7 separate regions of the Homo sapiens genome follow, and regions 1, 2, 4, 5, 6 and 7 are each linked to region 3. Evidence: promoter capture Hi-C in 16 types of primary human blood cells and fetal thymus (Javierre and others, 2016). All regions are on one chromosome and are shown on one strand. The core of a region is centred on a gene start or on the middle of the fragment in contact, and the rest is flanking DNA. Distances in the headings are between cores, read along the strand shown.

The links. The method cuts DNA at HindIII sites, captures the fragments that hold promoters and counts their contacts. A CHiCAGO score of 5 or more calls a contact.
Region 1: a contact is called between a fragment that was not itself captured here and the fragment with the promoter of MLKL in region 3, in 1 of 17 cell types (fetal thymus). The highest score is 6.9, in fetal thymus.
Region 2: the fragment with the promoter of CFDP1 here is called in contact with the fragment with the promoter of MLKL in region 3 in 12 of 17 cell types (fetal thymus, activated CD4 T cells, non-activated CD4 T cells and 9 more); the score reaches 13.3 in fetal thymus.
Region 4: the fragment with the promoter of ADAT1 here is called in contact with the fragment with the promoter of MLKL in region 3 in 1 of 17 cell types (naive CD8 T cells); the score reaches 5.4 in naive CD8 T cells.
Region 5: a contact is called between a fragment that was not itself captured here and the fragment with the promoter of MLKL in region 3, in 1 of 17 cell types (total CD8 T cells). The highest score is 5.5, in total CD8 T cells.
Region 6: a fragment that was not itself captured here is called in contact with the fragment with the promoter of MLKL in region 3 in 1 of 17 cell types (monocytes); the score reaches 8.8 in monocytes.
Region 7: a contact is called between a fragment that was not itself captured here and the fragment with the promoter of MLKL in region 3, in 2 of 17 cell types (neutrophils and total CD4 T cells). The highest score is 5.7, in neutrophils.

The regions. Positions count from the first base shown.
Region 1 is chr16:75,393,696-75,396,534 of GRCh38, reverse strand. It overlaps CFDP1 (craniofacial development protein 1), which reads left to right. Exons shown (of 7, transcript NM_006324.3): 5 at 1,326-1,445. Among named protein-coding and RNA genes, the nearest start is that of CFDP1, 38 kb to the left of the region's middle. The HindIII fragment of the contact is 193 bases long and covers 1,303-1,495 here.
Region 2 is chr16:75,432,228-75,435,064 of GRCh38, reverse strand. It overlaps CFDP1 (craniofacial development protein 1), which reads left to right and starts at 1,562. Exons shown (of 7, transcript NM_006324.3): 1 at 1,562-1,776. The coding sequence starts at 1,713. RefSeq lists enhancers at 956-1,523, 1,067-1,576 and a silencer at 1,887-2,126. The HindIII fragment of the contact is 10,360 bases long and covers 1-2,837 here.
Region 3 is chr16:74,699,522-74,702,221 of GRCh38, reverse strand. MLKL (mixed lineage kinase domain like pseudokinase) reads left to right here and starts at 1,360. Exons shown (of 11, transcript NM_152649.4): 1 at 1,360-1,769. RefSeq lists an enhancer at 1,457-1,906. The HindIII fragment of the contact is 1,546 bases long and covers 1,111-2,656 here.
Region 4 is chr16:75,621,923-75,624,682 of GRCh38, reverse strand. It overlaps ADAT1 (adenosine deaminase tRNA specific 1), which reads left to right and starts at 1,402. Exons shown (of 10, transcript NM_001324445.2): 1 at 1,402-2,280. RefSeq lists enhancers at 1,089-1,608, 1,488-1,727, 1,609-2,128, 2,129-2,648, 2,649-2,760. The HindIII fragment of the contact is 8,287 bases long and covers 1-2,760 here.
Region 5 is chr16:75,413,308-75,416,007 of GRCh38, reverse strand. It overlaps CFDP1 (craniofacial development protein 1), which reads left to right. Exons shown (of 7, transcript NM_006324.3): 2 at 1,313-1,430. Among named protein-coding and RNA genes, the nearest start is that of CFDP1, 19 kb to the left of the region's middle. The HindIII fragment of the contact is 362 bases long and covers 1,239-1,600 here.
Region 6 is chr16:75,642,432-75,645,142 of GRCh38, reverse strand. All of the region lies in intron 1 of KARS1 (lysyl-tRNA synthetase 1), which reads left to right. Among named protein-coding and RNA genes, the nearest start is that of KARS1, 3.9 kb to the left of the region's middle. The HindIII fragment of the contact is 3,555 bases long and covers 1-2,711 here.
Region 7 is chr16:75,472,665-75,475,364 of GRCh38, reverse strand. It overlaps CHST6 (carbohydrate sulfotransferase 6), which reads left to right. Exons shown (of 3, transcript NM_021615.5): 3 at 1-2,700. Among named protein-coding and RNA genes, the nearest start is that of TMEM170A, 9.3 kb to the right of the region's middle. The HindIII fragment of the contact is 3,555 bases long and covers 1-2,700 here.

The DNA of each region.
Region 1 (2,839 bases), core at 150-2,649, 690 kb before region 3:
CAGAGTCTCGCTCTGTTGCCCAGGCTGAAGTGCAGTGGCGTGGTCTGAGCTCACTGCAACCTCCACCTCCTGGGTTCAGGCAATTCTCCTGCCTCAGCCTCCCTAGTAGCTGTGATTACAGGCGCCTGCCACTATGCCTGGCTAATTTTTTGTATTTTTAGTAGAGACAGGGTTTCACCATGTTGGCCAGGCTGGTCTCAAACTCATGACTTCGTGGTCCGCCTGCCTTGGCCTCCCAAAGTGCTGGGATTACAGGCATGGGCCACTGTGCCTGGTCTCCTCAAATTTTTTTTTTTAACTCTTGTTTTTCTCCTTGAAATAGTGCCAACCTAGGCATTATTTCCCAATTCTATAACCTATATTCCCAGTATTCCATCTCCCCATCTCAGCTTTCAAGGCTGAGTGCTAATCTGCATGTGGGGTGCAGTGTGAGGGCCTTTTTCAGCCTTCACATCAGTAAACCAGCATGGAGATTTAGTATTGACTGCTGCAGTGTGTTTCATGCTGAGAAGTCATGGAGGGGAGATGGACTGCATTTAAACAACATTCCTCAGGTGTTTTCGTTAACCTGGAAAGCCTAGGCAGGGATTAAACATTTCTCCTTCTCTCTTTATCTGAATTCTCAGGTACCATAAACACCTTTATTTGAACCTTTAGGACTCAGTTTTAGTGAAGATAATTGTTTCAGATTTGAAATTAGACAAAATTCTCAGTCATGTTGCTTTCGTCCATTCCCAAATTATTGCTAATTTAGCCAGTTTTAGGGGATTTTGTTTCATCTTTGGGTTGTTATAGGGTGATAAAATTTATACACATTGTTGTTTCATTTGTTAATTTTAGTGAGGGAAAATGTTTTTTTATTTTTTTTATTTTTTTGAGACGGTGTCTCGTGCTGTTGCCCAGGCTGGAGTGCAATGGCGTGATCTCGGCTCACTGCAACCTCTGCCTCCCGGGTTCAAGTGATTCTGCTGCCTCAGCCTCCCGAGTAGCTGGGACTACAGGCGCCCGCCACCACGCCCAGCTAATTTTTATATTTTTAATAGAGACGGGATTTCACCATGTTGGCCAGGATAGTTTCGATCTCTTGACCTTGTGATCCGCCTGCCTCGGCCTCCCAAAGTGCTGGGAGTACAGGCGTGAGTCACCACGCCCGGCTGGGCAAATGTCTTTATTGAAAGTTATAGTAAACTTTTATCATAATGCTGAGCGTCCAGAATTTATTGGAAGCCGAGTGGATCTTTTTCTAGTTGTCTTTATTCCCTTTTCTAGCTTGTTTCTTTCTCTTTATTCTTCTTGTAAGCTTGATGTCTTTTTCCTTGGCACAGGGTAACTAAGGAAGTGGATGCTACATCTAAAGAGGCCAAATCCTTCTTCAAGCAGAATGAGAAAGAAAAACCACAGGCTAATGTTCCTTCAGCTCTGCCATCACTCCCTGCCGGGTCAGGGTGAGTATTTGAGTCTCACTCCCTGATGTACTTGGCACGTTGGAGAAGCTTTCAGTGCAAATACCTACTTTCGCTGCAGATCAGACTCCTTGCCTGAGAGAGAGAATTATGATGCTGCTTTGCCTTTGCTGCAATATTTACCAGAATGGAAGATGCAAAGGAAAATTAGCCATAACTTTCTCAGGAGGATTGCTTGAACCCAGGAGTTTGTGACCAGCCTGGGCAATACAGTAAGACCCTGTCTCTTAAAAAAAAAAAAATTAGCTGGGCATGGTGGCTTGCACCTCTGTCCTAGCTACTGTGGAGGCTGAGGCAGGAGGATCCCTTGAGCCCAGAAGGTTGAGGCTGCAGTGAGCCGTGATTGTGCCACTGCACTCCAGCCTGGGTGACAGAGAGATCCTGTCTCTTAAAAAAAAAAAAAAAAAAAAAAAGCGAAGAAAATTAGTTGTAGCTTTCTTATTTGTTGCCAGCCTAAAAGAAGTCCTAGTTTATAGTATTGAACACAAAGCTGAACGTGTAAATTTTACATTTAAAAATAATACTTTTCAAATGAAAATATCAGCCTTCTGCAGAACTTTTCATGAAGATTTGCGATGAACACTCACTCCCATCCTCTGTGATCTTAGAGGAACATAAAAAGATCAAAGATGATTTACAAATAGTTTTCTTAACACATTGTCAGGAACTTAATGGTTTTCCTCCCTTCATATTTTTCATATTACTTGAGTTATTTTTAGCTGAAGGCTAGAATTCTTTCTTTTTGGAAGAAGTAAAAATTCTTTTCTTAACCTAAATGTGAGAAGTAAAGTATTACAGTAAATCAGAGAGGCTTAAGACTGTTGCCACAGGGAAGTGAACATAGACCCATACCATGGATAGCCCTGACTACCCACCTGACTCCTGTGGGGAGTTCTGCATAGTCTCCTACAGTGGCTTCTGTGGCCCTTCAGTCAGATATTGTCCCCTCTTCCTTCCCTCCTGGAGCATACCTGTCATTGCTATGAGCAGTAAAGTTTTGTTTCACATTTTTTTTTTGAGGTGGAGTCTCGCTCTGTCACCCAGGCTGCAGTGCAGTGGCGCAATCTCGGCTCACTGCAAGCTCCGCCTCCCGGGTTCATGTCATTCTTCTGCCTCAGCCTCCTGAGTAGCTGGGACTACAGGTGCCAACACGCCCGTCTAATCTTTTGTATTTTTAGTAGAGACGAGGTTTCACTGTGTTAGCCAGGATGGTCTTGATCTCCTGACCTCGTGATCTGCCCTCCTTGGCTTCCCAAAGTGCTAGGATTACAGGCGTGAGCCACCGGGCCCGGCCCCACTTTTTTTTTTTTTTTTTTTTTTTTTTTTTTTTTTTTGCGACGGAGTCTCGCTCTGTCGCCCAGGCCGGACTGCGGACT
Region 2 (2,837 bases), core at 313-2,812, 730 kb before region 3:
GTGGACGCCTGTAGTCCCAGCTACTCGGGAGGCTGAGGCAGGAGAATGACGTGAACCCGGGAGGCGGAGCTTGCAGTGAGCCGAGATTGCGCCACTGCACTCCAGCCTGGGCGACAGAGCGAGACTCCGTTTCAAAACCAAACCAAAACAAAACAAACCCAAACAAACAAAAAACAAAACAAAACAAAACAAAAAACCCTTGAAGGCAAGGTTTCTGCCCTGGAGACAGTGTTCAGCTTCTGGGATGAAGCAGTTGTGGAACCAATCAGACATCATCCACACTTTTTTGTTCCACCTCCAATAGACTGGCAGATGGTTCACGTATTTCCCGTTAAGTGCTTGTGGATTTTGGGTTCTTTACACCATTAGGAGTTTGCACTTTAGTCGCTCTTGGCATTGGCGCACAATAACAAGGGTGCATGATCCTGGCATGATTTAAAGCCAGGGGCTTTGGAGGCCGTTTGCATTATATAGGTTCGTTTGCCAACATCCTTGTAAAATAAGCCAGTCTCATCCGCATTGAAAACCTGCTCTTTCACATAACCCTTTTCCTGTATAACACTTAGCAAGTATTTTTAAAATTCTTCCGCAGCCTCCTGATCTGCAGAGCTCGCCTCACCTGCAAGTTTAACATTTTTCACCCCGTATCGCCTTTTGAAACGCGCGAGCCGGCCAGCACTCGCCGAGAAGGGCTTAGCATTTCTTTGACTCTGGGTAACGTGACCACAGATATCTTTGGCTTTCAGCCTCACCACAATGCTGTCCACTATGTTTTTTTTAATCGATTGACATCTCATGAATCCACAAATTTAGCCGCTTTTCCATCTTTTCCATCTTTGTCATAGCTTCATCACGCACGATGGAGGTCACTTCAGCACTATCCGGAGCGGCCTCACGGACAGATCGGTGAATTTCCTTTTCCTTTTTCTTGATGTACCGGATTGTCGACTCGTTAACATTGAGCTCATGGCCAACAGCACTGTAACTCATGCCTGATTGGAGCTTATCCAACACGCGGACTTTCTCCGTAAGGCACATCACGGTCTTCTTTCGCTTAGGAACACTGGGCAGAGCTTAAGCACTACGCTTGGGGGCCATTTTAGAAAGCAAAACCACCCACAAAAAGCAGAAAAAAAAGTGTCAGTAAACAGACTGCGGAAAGGACTCTTTGTTTACAGCACAGGAGCTGCGACTAGAAGGCGGCGCTTCTCCCAGTTCAAACTTCAGCTGGGAACCTTACCTCCGCCAACTCCAAATTTTCACCCTCTGCGCATGCCCGGGAAGAACCCCAGACAGTACCGTGATGATTGATTTTAGGGTTACAAATACATTTTAGCAAGTAAGTGAATTTGGCATTACGAATTAATGATTAATGAAGGTCACCTGTATTTCCATAGATATGTAATTTTATTTAAGCAGGTTTATTATATTAAGGCGGCGAGGCAGCGCCGAAGACTACAAGTTCCAGCATGCACCGCGTCCGGGCGGGTTCGGGCTCCCAGCGAGGGCTTCAGGGACGCCAGCCCGGAGGCATCGGCCGGAAGTGTCGTAGGGCAACCACGTAGTACTCTCTGCGCATGTGCAAAGCGCTGTCGGGGGCCGCCCTAGCTGCCGTCGCCGCCGCCGGGGCTCTATGGTCTCTCCCTAGAGCTTTGCCGTTGGAGGCGGCTGCTGCGGTCTTGTGAGTTTGACCAGCGTCGAGCGGCAGCAACATGGAGGAATTCGACTCCGAAGACTTCTCTACGTCGGAGGAGGACGAGGACTACGTGCCGTCGGGTGAGCGATTCCGCCTGAGGCGAGAAGCGAATTGCCCCGCCCCACGCCTCACGTGAGGCGCGCTCTGCCCCCGCGGGCGTCTGCCCTGTGGCCCAGGTGGTCCAGGGGGGCTCCTGTTCTCGAGCGTCCGCTCCCTCAGGCCCCTCATCCTCGGCCGCTCCGGCCCGAGGCGTGTGCGCGTGGCGGTTCTGTGCTCCCCTCCCGTTGGGCAGCTCCGGCCGCCGCCCCCTCTTGCAGCGCGGGAACCGGCACATGGACACGGCCCCTTGTCGCTAGGGACGCTCGTCGGTCAGCCCCGAACGACACCGCTGCTTCAGAAGTCGGGGCGGCAGTCCGAGCCTTGGAGGTTTTTTTCAGCCCTGGCCCGAGAGAGCTGCTGGCCACCACCCCGTCCAAGATAGAGCTGTCCGCTCTCCGCCTGGTTGTTAGAAAGTTCTGATAGAAAGTTCCCCCTTTGATGCTTTTTGCCTCATTGTGACGTCCACCCATCCTCTCCTCTCAGAACTTTCTTTCCTTAGGGATCTCAACCCGAACGGGGTGAGAATGAATCTTACTGAAGAAATCTTTCTGTTCCCCCTTCTTGGTCTTCCCCAGACAAACCGTCTCGTTGAAAGTATCTTCACCCATTCACATCTTCAGTTGAAAGACTAGACAAACAAGAAACAAACAGACTAACAAAACACAACCCAGGAGTCGTCCCTATTCTCTTTGTTTTACTTTGTTCTGTTCTGTTTTATTTAAAGACAGGGTCTTGCTGTTGTCTAGGCTGGAGTGCAGTGATGCGATCTTGGCTCACTGCAACCTCAGACTCCTGGGCTCAAGCGATCCTCCCGTCTCAGCCTCTGGAGTAGCTGGGACTGCAGGTGCAGGCTGCCACGCCCGCTAATTTTTTAAATTTTTTTTTTTTTTTTTTTTTTTAGAAATGGCATCTTGCTATGTTGCCCAGGCTGGTCTCGAACTCGTGGGCTCAAGTGATCCTCCCACCTCAGCCACCCAAAGTGCTGGGATTACAGGCATGAGCCACCGCGCCCCGGCTAGTGAAGTATTTCTAAAAGGCACGT
Region 3 (2,700 bases), core at 111-2,610:
GTCCAGAAGAATTGCCCTGGGCAGAAAGGAGGCTGCCTCTTGTTCCAGACCTTCACATTCCAGACCTCCCCATGGAGCCTCCACTGACTACATACTTGTTTCACTTTTTCTTCCTCTGCCCTATCATACCCACCACTCTCCTAAGAGTCTTCCTTCAATAAATCACAGGCACCTGTGTTACTTGTTGAAGGTGTCCAGGTTCTTGGCATCTTGAACAAAGAAATGGGCAAAATGCACAAAGCAAGGAAAGAATGAGGCAACAAAAGCAGAGATGTATTGAAAACAAAGGTACACTCCACAGGGTGGGAGCCAGCGTGAGCATAGGGGCTCAAGAACTCCGTTACAGAATTTTCTGGGATTTAAATACCCTCTAGAGGCTCCCATTGGTTAATTGGTGTACACCCTATGTAAATGAAGAAGATGAAGTGAAGTTGCTCAGTCACTTACTCAGTGAACGCCATATGTAAATGAAGAAAATATTTCCTGTCATAGCTGAAATGTGTCCATTTTATTTAGTTCTAAGAAGTCAGCGTGAATCAGCTTTATGTTCCCTGCCTGCAGACCCTATTCTCCTGCCTCACCTCAATCTCTTCACCTAAGACAGGAAGAAAACTGATGATGCAGGAGACGAAGAACAATAGCAAGGCGAAGAAATGAATCTCCAAGGCCGGCTTCAAGCGATTCTCCCCTCTCAGGCTCCCGAGTAGCTGGGATTACAGGCATGCACCACCACGCCTGGCTAATTTTTGTATTTTTAGTAGAGACAGGGTTTCCCCATGTTGGCCAGGATGGTCTTGAACTCCTGACCTCAGGTGATCTGGCCACCTCCGCCTCCCAAAGTGCTGGAATTACAGGCATGAGCCACCACACCCAGCTCCCAGTTCTGTTCTTTTAGAGGCAAATAGTCTGTTGAGTAAATGCATAACACTACTTAGACTTTCTAGCTGAAGATGTAGTTAATCTTAAGAAAACCTGACTCACACTGTAACAGGATGTTCTGCAATGACCTTAGAAGAGGAAGTGACTTTTTTCCCACTTTGGTGTCTCTTCCCTCGTACCCTCCCCACCCCGCCAATATTATCCAGCACAGAGAAGCAAACACCAGAAGCTTCTCTCCAACTTTCAGTTTTTCTCTAAACTTCCAGTCCTTCTCATACTGTGTCCTGGTTATAATAGTTGCTGGGACCTTATTCTATTCTGAATCCCCAGCCCCTAAAGAAGGCTTGGTACTGACGTGTACAGCGTAGTTACCCAGTGACTTTGGGGAAGGCAGGAAGAGTGTGGAAAGGACAGGAGGAAGGAAGGGAGGGGCCGTGGCTCCGAGCTGCCTAGAAAGCGGCTCCAGGGAGCCAGGGCACCGTGAGCCTGGTGGTTGGCAGCTGGAGCCACGTCGGAGGGGGAAGTGTCGCAGCATTCTCTGCAGGCATCACAGACCTGAGGCAGTGGCCTCCGGAGGGCACTGGACAGAAACAGCCATCCAAGTGGCTGAGTGGAGGGACCCTGCTCAAGTGCAGCTGCAGTGGCCGGGGTTTCCCTCAGGTAGGGATCGGGGCGCCTTGTCGCCGCCAGCCACGTGTGGCGTCCGGTACAGTCAGCAGAGTGCAGGGTGCGGGCACCAGGAAAGGGGGCGCAGGGGAACTCCCGCGGGCCTCGCGTTTGCAAACTTCTCGCCTGGGCAGGAGGCGGTCGTGGGAAAGAAGGTGGAAGAGCGAGCTTTTTGGAACTGTGCACGGGACAGATTGGACGCACACCCCTCGGGAGGCGCGAAGGTGAGCATGGGGTCTTCCCAGGAGGCGGCGGGGCCGAGGGGCTGCAGCCGAATTCCTGGACGGTGATGGGAAGAACCAGGGGTGAGGGTGGCCCGGTCCGAGTTCCTGGAACTCAGGACCGAGTTGGTTTCATTTCCTCAGCTCTGATGGTGGAGCTGCCTGCTCGGATCTCGCACTACCTTCCGCCAAAGCGAGACGCCCAGTAGCAGTGGGGGTCGTGGAGGGCAGGGGCACGGGAACAAGTTACCTGATGTCTTCTCAGAAAAAGGAAGTCTTCAGGTTTGCAGGCTGAAGGCGTGAGAGAGAGACAGAGTGAGAGAGAGAGAAGAGGGAAATGCCTGATAACCTTTACTTATTTTATTTTATTTTTATTTTTTATTTTTTGGAGGGAAGAGGTGAATTTGCATTGTTATTACCATTTAAAGATTTTTCACTTTTAAAATTAGTAACCTGTTTTCTCATCGTAACATATGAACATAATCCCCTTTTTCTTTTTATTTATTTATTTTGAGAGATGGAGTCTTCCTCTGTTGCCCAGGCTGGAGCGCAGTGGCACAATCATAGCTCACTGCAGCCTCCGAACTCATGGGCTCAAGTGATCCTCCAACCAGATCCTCCCAAGTAGCTAGGACTACAAGGTGCACATCACCACACCCAATTAAATTTTTTTTGTATTTTTTGGTAGAGCCAGGGTCTCGCTTTGTCACCCAGGCTGGTCTCAAACTCCTGGGCTCAGGTGATCCTCCTACCTCACCCTCCCAAAGTGCTGGGATTACAGGTGTGAGCCACTGCAGCTGGCCTGAACATATTCTTAGCTGTTTGTTTTACATATTATAAATAGCACTGCAGTGAACATCTCGGTAGCCATCTATCTACAAACACAAGCTTTTCTACATCATAAGTTCCTAGAAATTCAAATTGCCCAGTCTAA
Region 4 (2,760 bases), core at 153-2,652, 920 kb before region 3:
TGAAGTATCCAGGCAGCTATATTACTTATTCCCGGCAATCCAAAGGTTTTTAGACCTGTTCTGCCCACTACACTGTAGTAGTACTGTACTACAGTAGCCAGTAGCCACATGTGACTATCCAGCATCTGAAATGTGGCTGATCCAAATTGGGATGTATTCTAAGTGTAACACACACCAGATTTCTTAAACTTCGCATTAAAAACAGAACAGAACATAAGTATTTTTTAAAATATTGAGACTCGGCAGCCAGGTGCGGTGGCTCACGCCTGTAATCCAGCACTTTGGGAGGCCGAGGCGGGCAGATCACGAGGTCAGGAGATCGAGACCATCCTGGCTAACATGGTGAAACCCCGTATCTACTAAAAATACAAAAATTAGCCTGACGTGGTGGCAGGCACCTGTAGTCCCAGCTACTCGCGAGGCTGAGGCAGGAGAATGGCGTGAACCTGGGAGGCGGAGCTTGCAGTGAGCAGAGATTGCGCCACTGCACTCCAGCCTGGGTGACAGAGCGAGACTCCGTCTCAAAAAAAAAAAAAAAAAAAAAAAAAATATATATATATATATATATGAGACAGACAGACCGACCCCGGGCATCGTGACTCACGCCTGTAATCCCAGCACTCTGGGAGGTTGAGGCGGGCGGATCACTTGAGGTCAGGAGTTCGAGACCAGCCTGGTAACATGGCGAAACCCCGTCTCTACTAAAAATAACAAAAATGAGCCGGGTGTGATGGCGGGCGCCTGTAATCCCAGCTACTTGGGAGGCTGAGGCAGGAGAATCGCTTGAAGCCAGGAGACGGAGGTTGCAGTGCGCCGAAATTGCGCCGCTTCCAGCCTGGGCGACAAAGCGAGACTCCATCTCAAAAAATTTTTTGATTATATGTTGAAATAATACTATTTGGGATGTATGGGTTAAATAAAATATATATGATTGTTTCTATTTTGACTTTTAATGAGGCTACTGGAAATTTTTAAATTACGTATATGGTTCGAATTATATATCTATTGGACAGTGATGTTACAGATAGAAATACAGCATAGTCAGGAGAATCGCTTGAACCGGGAGGCGAAGGTTGCAGTGAGCCGAGATCGCGCCTCTACACTCCAGCCTGAGCAACAGAGCAAGACTCCGTCTCAAAAAAAAAAAAGAAAAAGAAAAAAATTCAGCCGAGTGCTGCAAGATACGTCATTCTAGTTGAAGGAATATCTAAGCCAACAAGCGGCTCCCATCATCCGGTTTCACGCCTCTCTAAGACGCAGCCAGGGCTGCGGGACTTGAAGCGCGGGAATCTCGGCCCTGGCACCGACTCCCCGGAAAAACTACAGGGCCCGGCATGCACTGCGCGCCTCTGGGAGCGGGAGCCGAAAGGAACCGGCGCTTTGTGACGTCACGTCCGCCTTACCGGCGGATTAAGCTCGCTTTCTTCTAGGCGCGTTTCCTGAAGGTGGGAGGGGAGCGTCCGCGAGGCGCTGGGGCGACGGGGCAGGTTTATCCGGGCTAACTTTGCCGAGTCTGTTTTTGAGGGAAGAGGTTGTGAGGATCGTATCTTCCGGGACGCGTTTCACGTGGGAAGGCGCTCCACGCCTGGAACTGTCAGCAGCCGGCGCCTGAAGAGCTCCTGGCGCGGGGCCTCTGGCCTGGCAGCCGCAGGACCCAATGGATCAGGCGCTCACGCTGTTCTCACTGCATGGCTTCAGTGCCTTGCCTGGCACCTCCTATCCTGTAACTGGCCGACTCGGGGTCCCACCCAGGCTTCTCCAGCGGCCGGGAAGGGGCTCTGCTTCCGGAAGTGTTTAGGAAGGGAGCCAGCGTAAACCAGAGTCCCTTCCTCCAAGCATCGCTGAAGCCTTTTCTCCCCTGGCAGCCGACTTCCTTTTCTTTGGAAAGGACGTCAGTTTTTTTAGCTTGTTGAAACTGTTCAGAGATGCGGTCTTGTGGGCAAATAAATGCCTGTTTAGCTGAGCTGTTATTTTCAGCTAAGAAGTTCTTCAAGTTTTCAAGATCTAGGAGGGGGTGTAGGCTCGAATTATAATGGACCCAGTGTAGCAAAACATTTATTCATTTAAACAATTGTGCATGCTCATTCAGACGCACTACCTGAGTGAGATGATGCCGTTCTGGGCTGCTTCATCTTAAAGAGAGTCACTGTTTCTTCTGGCAACTTCTACCTGCCTTGCCTATCGAGGTTTGTGAATTGCACCTCTGGTTTAATTTCAGGTCGATGGCCAGGTGGTCTTCATAAACTATACTGCCTTGTGATGCCTCCCTAGAAATGAGAGGTGAGTCCCTTCCAAACGAGGATTCTAGGATCTCATGCTTTCTTTTCTTGACAAGGCTTGCCCTGGCCCTCTGACTTTCAAGTCACAGGGTCTCACTTCCTGCAGATTTTTGTTTTAAATCACTGTGGTCTGATTTACCAGTAGCATTCACTACAGTAGCGAGCCTGCACGTTGCGCTGCAGGGGATTCATAACAATACCATCTTTCAAAAGCTGCATGCACTGGAGCTCAGGAAAGCCTTTTTTGTTTTTTTGAGAGGGAGTCTCGCTCTGTCACCCAGCCTGGAGTGCAGTGGCACAATCTCGGCTCATTGCGACCTCCGCCTCCCGGGTTCAAGCGATTCTCCTGCCTCAGCCTCCCGAGTAGCTGGGACTACAGGCACGCGCCATCACGCCCGGCTAATTTTTTTGTATTTTCAGTAGAGACAGGGTTTCACCACGTTGGCCAGGCTGGCCTCGAACTCCTGACCTCAGGTGAGCC
Region 5 (2,700 bases), core at 170-2,669, 710 kb before region 3:
GGTGGCACACTTCTGTAATGTCAGCTACTCAGGAGGCCAAGGCAGGAGAATCGCTTGAACTTGGGAGGCAGAGGTTGTAGTGAGCCAAGATCGCGCCACTGCACTCCAGCCTGGGTGACAGAGCAAGACTCCGTCTCAATAAATAAATAAAGCTGATTGGATGCACAGGAGTATCACAACAGTACTGTTTGTAATGACTCCAAATTGGAAACAACCTAGTTGTGCATCAGCAGTAGAATGAATAAACGGATTATGGTATAGTCATACAATGACACACTATTTACTGTTCAGGAGTGAGAATGAATAAACTACAGCTACACTGCAACAATGTGGGTGACTCTCACAAACATAATGTTGAATAAAAGAAGCCAGACACAGAAGAGTACACACTGCAGGCTTCTGTTGAAAGTTGAAAAGCAGGCAAAACTAACCCGTGACTTTAGAAGTCAGGATATTGGTTCCCTTTAGGGGTAGGGCAGTTGTTAGTGACTGGAAGGGAGCACAGGGGGCCTTCTGGGATGCTGCTAATGTTCAGTTCCTCGAGCTGGGGCCCTGGTTATGCAAGTGTGTTCACTGTGTGTCATTCCATTGAACTGTATATTAGATTTGTGTGCTTTTTGGTATGTACACTTCAATTGAAAGTTTATATGAAGTAAAAGAGGAAAAAGGTAGTGGAATCTCTGTGTGGGCAGGGTTGGTTTATTGACTGGTACCCACAGCATGTGGTCAGACATCCAAGCAACACTCTTTTGTTGGGGACCCTTGAATGTCAGTGTCTGACAATGGGACATGGGTGTGTTTGTTCTTTCTGCTATGTTTAACTGGAAGTCTTTAGGTTTCCTTTTAAACTTCTTTTATTGAGAAGACAAAGTGTTTTTTAAATTAGATTTGAAAGATACCCAAGATGAGGTAGTGCATCAGTTTCTTCTTTGAGAAACACATTAGTAGAATTGAAATTTCTGTTCATTCACTCATTCATTTAGTGAATACTTAAAAGTCACAATGAACAGGGTTTATGTCCTCTTGGAGTATACAGCACAGCAGAAATTACCAACATTAAATATAAGTGGGATGAGTTTTGGAGGGGAAATAGAGACTGCCATGGAAGCCTACGATAGAAGAACGTAGGGTAGTCTTCAGGGGCAGAGAAGACTTCCCCAAGGAAATGATGTTTTCGTTAGGTGAAGAGTAGGGGAAAATTCACTTTTTCTTAATGAAAATGTCTCGGTGTGAAAGCTTGTATTAATGAAAATGTCTCATCTTGATGTGAAAACCTTTATTCCTGTCTGATCACCCTGTTATGTGATTTCAGGTGGAGAGTATAGTGAAGATGATGTAAATGAATTAGTGAAGGAAGATGAAGTGGATGGTGAAGAGCAGACACAGAAAACCCAAGGGAAAAAAAGAAAGGCCCAGAGCATTCCAGCCAGGTGATGCTGCCTTCAAGGCCCTTAGAAGTTAGGGGCTATTGTCACAACCATCCTGATTGCTAAGATTGGTCTCATGATAGATTTAATGAAGCCAGAGTTTCTAACCCTTTTCTCTTTGAGGGAAACATTTGCTGTTATTTTAGGATTAACTTCTTGGTCTCTGGAAAGCTTTAAACATTTTGAGCTTTAATGTAAAGAAAATGTTAATAGGTAATATGTACATATGGTTAGAACAGAAAATTCAGTCCCTGAAAAGATGTTTACCCTGTTCCTAGACCTTGTTGCTTTGCCTCTGAAGAACTATGCTACCAGAGATAGTCTGTGCATGCAAATGCATATATGTCTATATTTTCTTCATTTTTTTTTTAGAAAAAAAATATAAATAGTAGCATACTCACTTTCTCATTTTCATTTCTCTTTATTTCACATCTTGGAGATAGTACCATGGCAGTATCTCCTCCTTTTCATAGTATTACGTTATGTGAATAGGCCTTACTTTATTTAGGCTTTCCTGTATCGAGGGATGTTTAGATTGTATCTAGTCTTTACTACAACAAAGAAGAGTGCAGTGAATATTCTTTGTATACATGTATACAAAGTATACATAAATATATAAATGTATATAATGTATACATGTATAAATATATCTGTAAATGTAACATTTAGAAGTGGAATTGTTTGATCTAAGGTTATATATGCAATTAAATTTTAAAAATACAGATATTAGCCCATTGCCTGGCATAGGCCTGGTATGGGCTTCTTTTCCCATGAAAATTATGAAAATTCTGACAGGTTATTTAACTTAGATAAGGGCATCTTCCATAGAAGTCTTTTACCTCACTTGGGTGTTTCTGTCTTCCTGGGCATTGAAGCAAAAAGCAGATTATCATTTATGAAAAAGAAAAAAGAATGTAGATATTAGATTGATTCACCTAAAGTCAAAATAGTCTAAGAAGCAATATACTCTTATAAGTCTTGGGCCCAGTTTTTTTGTCCTTGAATTTTTTTTTTTTTTTTTTTTTTTTGAGACAGAGTCTCGCCCTGTTGCCTAGGCTGGAGTGCAGTGGCGTGATCTCTGCTCAATGCAACCTCCGCCTCCTGGGTTCAGTTCCCTGCCTCAGCCTCCGAGTGGCTGGATTATAGGCACCCACCAACATGCCCGGCTAATTTTCTCATCTTGTTGTGATGAAAGTTTATATGAAGTAAAAGAGAAAAAAGGTAGTGGAATCTCTGTGTGGGCCTTGGCCTCCCAGAGTGCTGGGATTACAGG
Region 6 (2,711 bases), core at 193-2,692, 940 kb before region 3:
CACCATTTTGTGCCAGGTATTGACTCCAAGTTTAAAAGCAGATGTGCTCCCTGCCCGAGTGAAATAGCCTCCTCAAATTTATTTGAACACGGTAAAGAAGGTGATCTCTGTAATTCTGTTGCCTTCCAGTGTTGATAATGTATAAACATAACGCAGTCTAAGGACCTTCCTGAAATTCTCCTTTCCCCTTGTTCCTAGAGTTCCAAACAAGTCTTCTCTTTGACACGTATTTTTGTGTGGCTTGCATTTATCTTTGTCTAGAGTTTGCAATTGATAGTGACAGTTTCCTCTTATTTTATATGCTTCCTATTGCCATCTTGTGGCCAGGTATTTCCTCTCCAGGTGAGAAACCACACTTCAGGGCTTCAGAAAGTGCCTCACATCCTGTTCCCATATTCTAGGATGTTGTGAGCAATTTTACCTGTAAGCTATCCATTAACTTGCTGTTGGCTTTACCCCAGATATGCATGTTTTTTCCATAGTCAGGACTAAGAACATTGTCAGTTACAGTTGTAGCACAGAGAGTGTTACAGGGTTGCTATCAGTTAAGACAGTCTTAAGTTAAATGGGACTAAAAGGTAGTAGAAGCATGGTCCCCCTCCCCAACCCATAAGAGAGTTGGTTGGGTATATGTATACTGTCTGTCCCATCTGACACCACATCTCTGTGTTTCCCGCTAGGTGGTGGTAATCATTAGTTCCAGGGTGCTCTGCCATGTTGACGCAAGCTGCTGTAAGGCTTGTTAGGGGGTCCCTGCGCAAAACCTCCTGGGCAGAGTGGGGTCACAGGGAACTGCGACTGGGTCAACTTGCTCCTTTCACAGCGCCTCACAAGGACAAGTCATTTTCTGATCAAAGAAGGTTGGTGCCCATTACCTTCTTTATTGCTCTGGAAGCAAAAATTATTTCCTTACTTGGTTCATTTTCCGTTAAGCCTCTGGCTAAGTCTTTGGACTTGTTGCTAAGGAAACAAGGAGCCCTAATACCAAAACCAATAGTCCTTTCTCATTTTCTCTTTAATAAATTCAAATCGTCTCTCCTTAGAGTCTTGAGATGACATGTGGATCTTATTCTAGAAGAGTGCTAAGAACAAAACCTTTGTTTGAACAAATAATTTCTAATGCCAGCTATTTCCCTTTTCTGTCTTTCTGGAGTTTTGTGTGCTCTTGAGATTAATTTGGTTTCTAGTCTTAGTGCTATCCCTAGGACCTTTTTGGATTATCCTTAAGATTGATTTGATTTAAGAGGAGCACCTGGTTGAGTGGAAAACAGATTTATCTTAATTCTAGAAGAACTAGACAGCCTAATCTTAGCAGTCCACTGACTGAATTATAGCATGATAACACCAGCACAGTGTTTTGGAAAGGTTGTCTTTACAAATGTTATAAGACATTATATGTAGAAAAAGCTGTCAACTTTGAAACCATTCAGAATCTGTTTTTCTTTTTTACAAGATGAAAGATTCGGCCAGGCGTGGTGGCTCACGCCTGTAATCCCAGCACTTTGGGAGGCCAAGACAGGCAGATCACGAGGTCAGGAGATCAAGACCATCCTGGCTAACACGGTGAAACCCCATCTTCACTAAAAATACCAAAAAAATTAGCCGGGCATGGTGGCGGGCACCTGTAGTCCCAGCTACTCCGGAGGCTGAGGCAGGAAAATGGTGTGAACCCGGGAGGCAGAGCTTACAGTGATCTGAGATCGCACCACTGCACTCCAGCCTGGGCAACACAGCGAGACTCTGTCTCAAAAAAAAAAAAAAAAGGTGAAAGATTCAAAACCTCAATTCATTTTTTAAAGTTATTCTAAATTCATATCGAAAATGAAGGATGTGTCCTGAAGCCAGAATGTTTGCGGGCATGACTTGGGATCTTCTGCTGTGGTTCACTATTGCAGAATATTTGATTATGTTCAGCGGTTTGAAAGAATGATCCATAAATTGTCTTTGAATAGTAAAGATATCCCTCCCTACACCAATCTGTTTAGTTTCTGGTTTCAGATAGCAAATTCAGACTATAAGAGACATGAACATATCATACAGAACAGCTCAGAGTTGTCCGCATTACTTTGGTTTTTCAGGTTCAAGTGATAAGTATCAAGAGTTTGGATACCAAGTGATTTAACCAGAAATGTATTTAAATCTATATGAGGCACAGAGAGTAAAGGGTTAAGATACTAAAAGATACCTAGAAAGCTCACATTTGGTTAGCTGAATGCCAGGGTCAGGGTAATCCCTTTATACAAACATTATCTCATTACACACCATAACAACTGGTGGGGGTTGTCTATTATTATTTTCGTTTCACAGGTGAGAAGTTAATTCACTCGTCCAAGTCACATAATTGACAAGTGTGTTGGAATTTAGTCCCAGGCAGCCTGACTACAAAGATGGTATATTACCCCCTGTACTATACTGCTTTGCACACCGTTCTATTTTGTTGTCTAAGTCAGGCTCCAGTGGGCAAAGTGAGACTAATGCTGACAGCCATTCTTGGAGAGACTGTTGGTAGGGGAGGTCTCCTTGAGTGCTAAAGAGCCGGCTCTTCCTTACTATCATCCTAACTCACTCTTAGGGGAGGGATAGAGAGAGGGGGTAGCAGAGGGCTGGAGATGTTGCCTTATCATGTATTAGATCTGGCATTGGAGGGGTCAGGTGGCTCACACCTGTAATCCTAGCACTTTGGGAGGCCAAGGTGGGCAGATCACTTGAGG
Region 7 (2,700 bases), core at 57-2,556, 770 kb before region 3:
ACCTCTGAATCCAGGCTGGTCCTGTGACTTGCTTTGTCCTGTAGACAAGTGTAGTGCAACTTCCTGTGAGCCAGTTTGAAGCATAGGCCTTGGAAGCAAAACTTTACCTCCACCTGTCTTAGGTTTTCAGCTGGGGCTCTGCTGTGATTTGATTGTGTCTCCCAAAGTTGGAACCTTGATCCCCAGTGTTGTGAGGTGAGGCTTGATGGAAAGTAAATTACGCCGTGCGGGTTATGCCCTTGTGAATGGGTAGAGAACATTATTTCTGGGCGCAGGCATGGTAGCTCATGTCTGTAATCCCAGCATTTTGGGAGGTTGAGGTGTGCGGATTACTTGAGGTCAGGAGTTTGAGACCAGCCTGGCCAACAAGGTAAAACACCATTTCTAGTTAAAATACAAAAATTAGCCAGGTGTGGTGGCACATGCCTGTAAGGCCAGCTACTTGGGAGGCTGAGACAGGAGAATCGCTTGAACCCAGGAGGCAGAGATTGCAGTGAGCTGAGATCGCACCACTGTACTCCAGCCTGGGCAACAAAGCGAGAGTCTGTCTTAAAAAAAACCACCATTATTTCAGGAGTGAGTTGGTTATCCTGAGAGTGGTGCCTTTTAAATGAAGGAGTTCATTCTTTGTCTTTCTCTCGCCCTCACTTTGCCCTTCTGCCATATGATGCCTTCCATCATGCTAGGACACAGCAAGAAGGCTCTCGCTAGATGCTGGCTCCTTGATCTTGGGCTTCCCAGCCTCCAGAACTGTAAGCCAATACACTTCTATTTATTATATATGACCCTTGCTGGGTTCAGTGGCTCACGCCTGTAATCCCAATACTTTGCAAGGCTGAGGCAGGAGGATCACTTGAGACCAGGCACTCAAGACCAGCCTGGGCAACATAGTGAGACCCCATCTCTACAAAGTTAAAAAAAAATTAGCAGGGCATGGTGTCGTGCACCTGTAGTCCTAGCTACTTGGGAGGCTGAGTTGGGAGGACTGCTTGACCCTGGGAGGTTGAGGCTACATTGAACCATGATCATGCCAGTGCACTCCAGCCTGAGTGACAGAGCAAGACACCTATCTCTAAATAAATGACCCCATCTGTGGTATTGTTATAGCAAAACAAAACAGATTAAGAGAGACTTTTTAATGAAAAGACAGATTCACAAAGAAAAACAATGTTTTTGTTTCTGTTTTTTTGAGGCAGAGTCTTGCTCTTGTCCCCCAGGCTGGAGTGCAGTGGCGCCATCTTGGCTCACTGCAACCTCCGCCTCCCAGTTTCAAGCGATTCTCCTGCCTCAGCCTCCCGAGTAGCTGGGATTACAGATGTACACCACCACGCCCGGCTAATTTTTTTTGTATTTTTAGTAGAGATGGGGTTTCACCATGTCGATCAGGCTGGGCTGGAACTCCTGACCTCAGGTGATCCACCTGCCTTGGCCTCCCAATGTGCTAGGATTACAGGCATGAGCCACTGTACCTGGCGAAAAACAGTTTGTTAACACAGGCAGCCAACATCACTCAGGATAAGCCTCAATGAAAAGTAACAAAGTGATGGCTTGGAACACTGTCTTACACAGCATTTTTAAAAAATACAATAAATTTGTAGAGATAGGATGACCAAGGACAACAGTTTTAGGCTTCCAAAGGTGGTAAACTATGGGATGGTAAATATCCGAGAGGAAGCTGATGCAACAGGATTTGTCTGCAGCAGCCTCTGGTACCACCTCTGAGTCAAGGGTTGTGTCCAGTGATGGAGAGTTTATATCGTGCCTTTAGGCAGAAAAGGGGAGGGAAACCTGAACTTTTCCTGCACTTTCTGCTTCTTAATTGCCTTCAGCTGAAAATCATTTTTTATGTGAAAAAGGCATAGTCTGAGCTGACGCCTCTGCTTTCCTCCACCTGAAGAGAACCTGCGTGCTGCTCCTTTGCTTCGGACCTCCGCCTCTGCCCGGGAGAAAGCCCAGGCCAGCCTGCTGGACAAGCAGAGACCATGAGAAGGAGAGTTCAGGGGTCCCAAACCAGGCCATCCTAGACCAGCCAGCTCCAGCTGATCCGCACGCAGCCACTTCGGCTACCTTCTACTGGCCAAAGGGAGTCCCAGGGCTCACCCAGATTCAGAGGTGGGGAAACTGAGTCCACCACTTGAGAAGAGTAGCTATAAAGACATATGAGCGAGGCCAGCTGAGCCCAGCACTGCGGCCAAGTCGAAGACTTTAGGAGCAATAAAAGTGCTTATTGTGTTTCAGTCATTTGAGTGTTGTGGTGGTTTGTTACGTAGCATTGCCTAACCGATACACTTGAGAACGGAGGGCTCCTGGCACCTGCAGCTTCCAATTTCCACCAGGGTCCAGGCTCCCTCCCTGCTGGTAGGGCTGTAATTAGTGTCTCCCCTTACCTGTAGGCCCTGTGATGCAGCTAGAAGTGTCTAGGCCCAGCAGTCACCCACAATTAGGGGCAGGCACGCTTGCTGCCTCTGCTCTGGCTGTGGGAGCTCAGAAGGGGCAATCAAAGCACTAGATGGGCTGATGGGTGCATAGAAACAGTGTTGCCTGGAATAGGTCAGAGAACCCACCTATCAAGAGGCTGTTGGGGAATCAATGGTGGGCCTTATTTTTGTTATTTTGCATCAAGAAGATATATTATCCACATCAACACTGTATCAACTCCTCATGGCCACCACAGACCCTGTGTCCCCTAGCTTTGTCTTT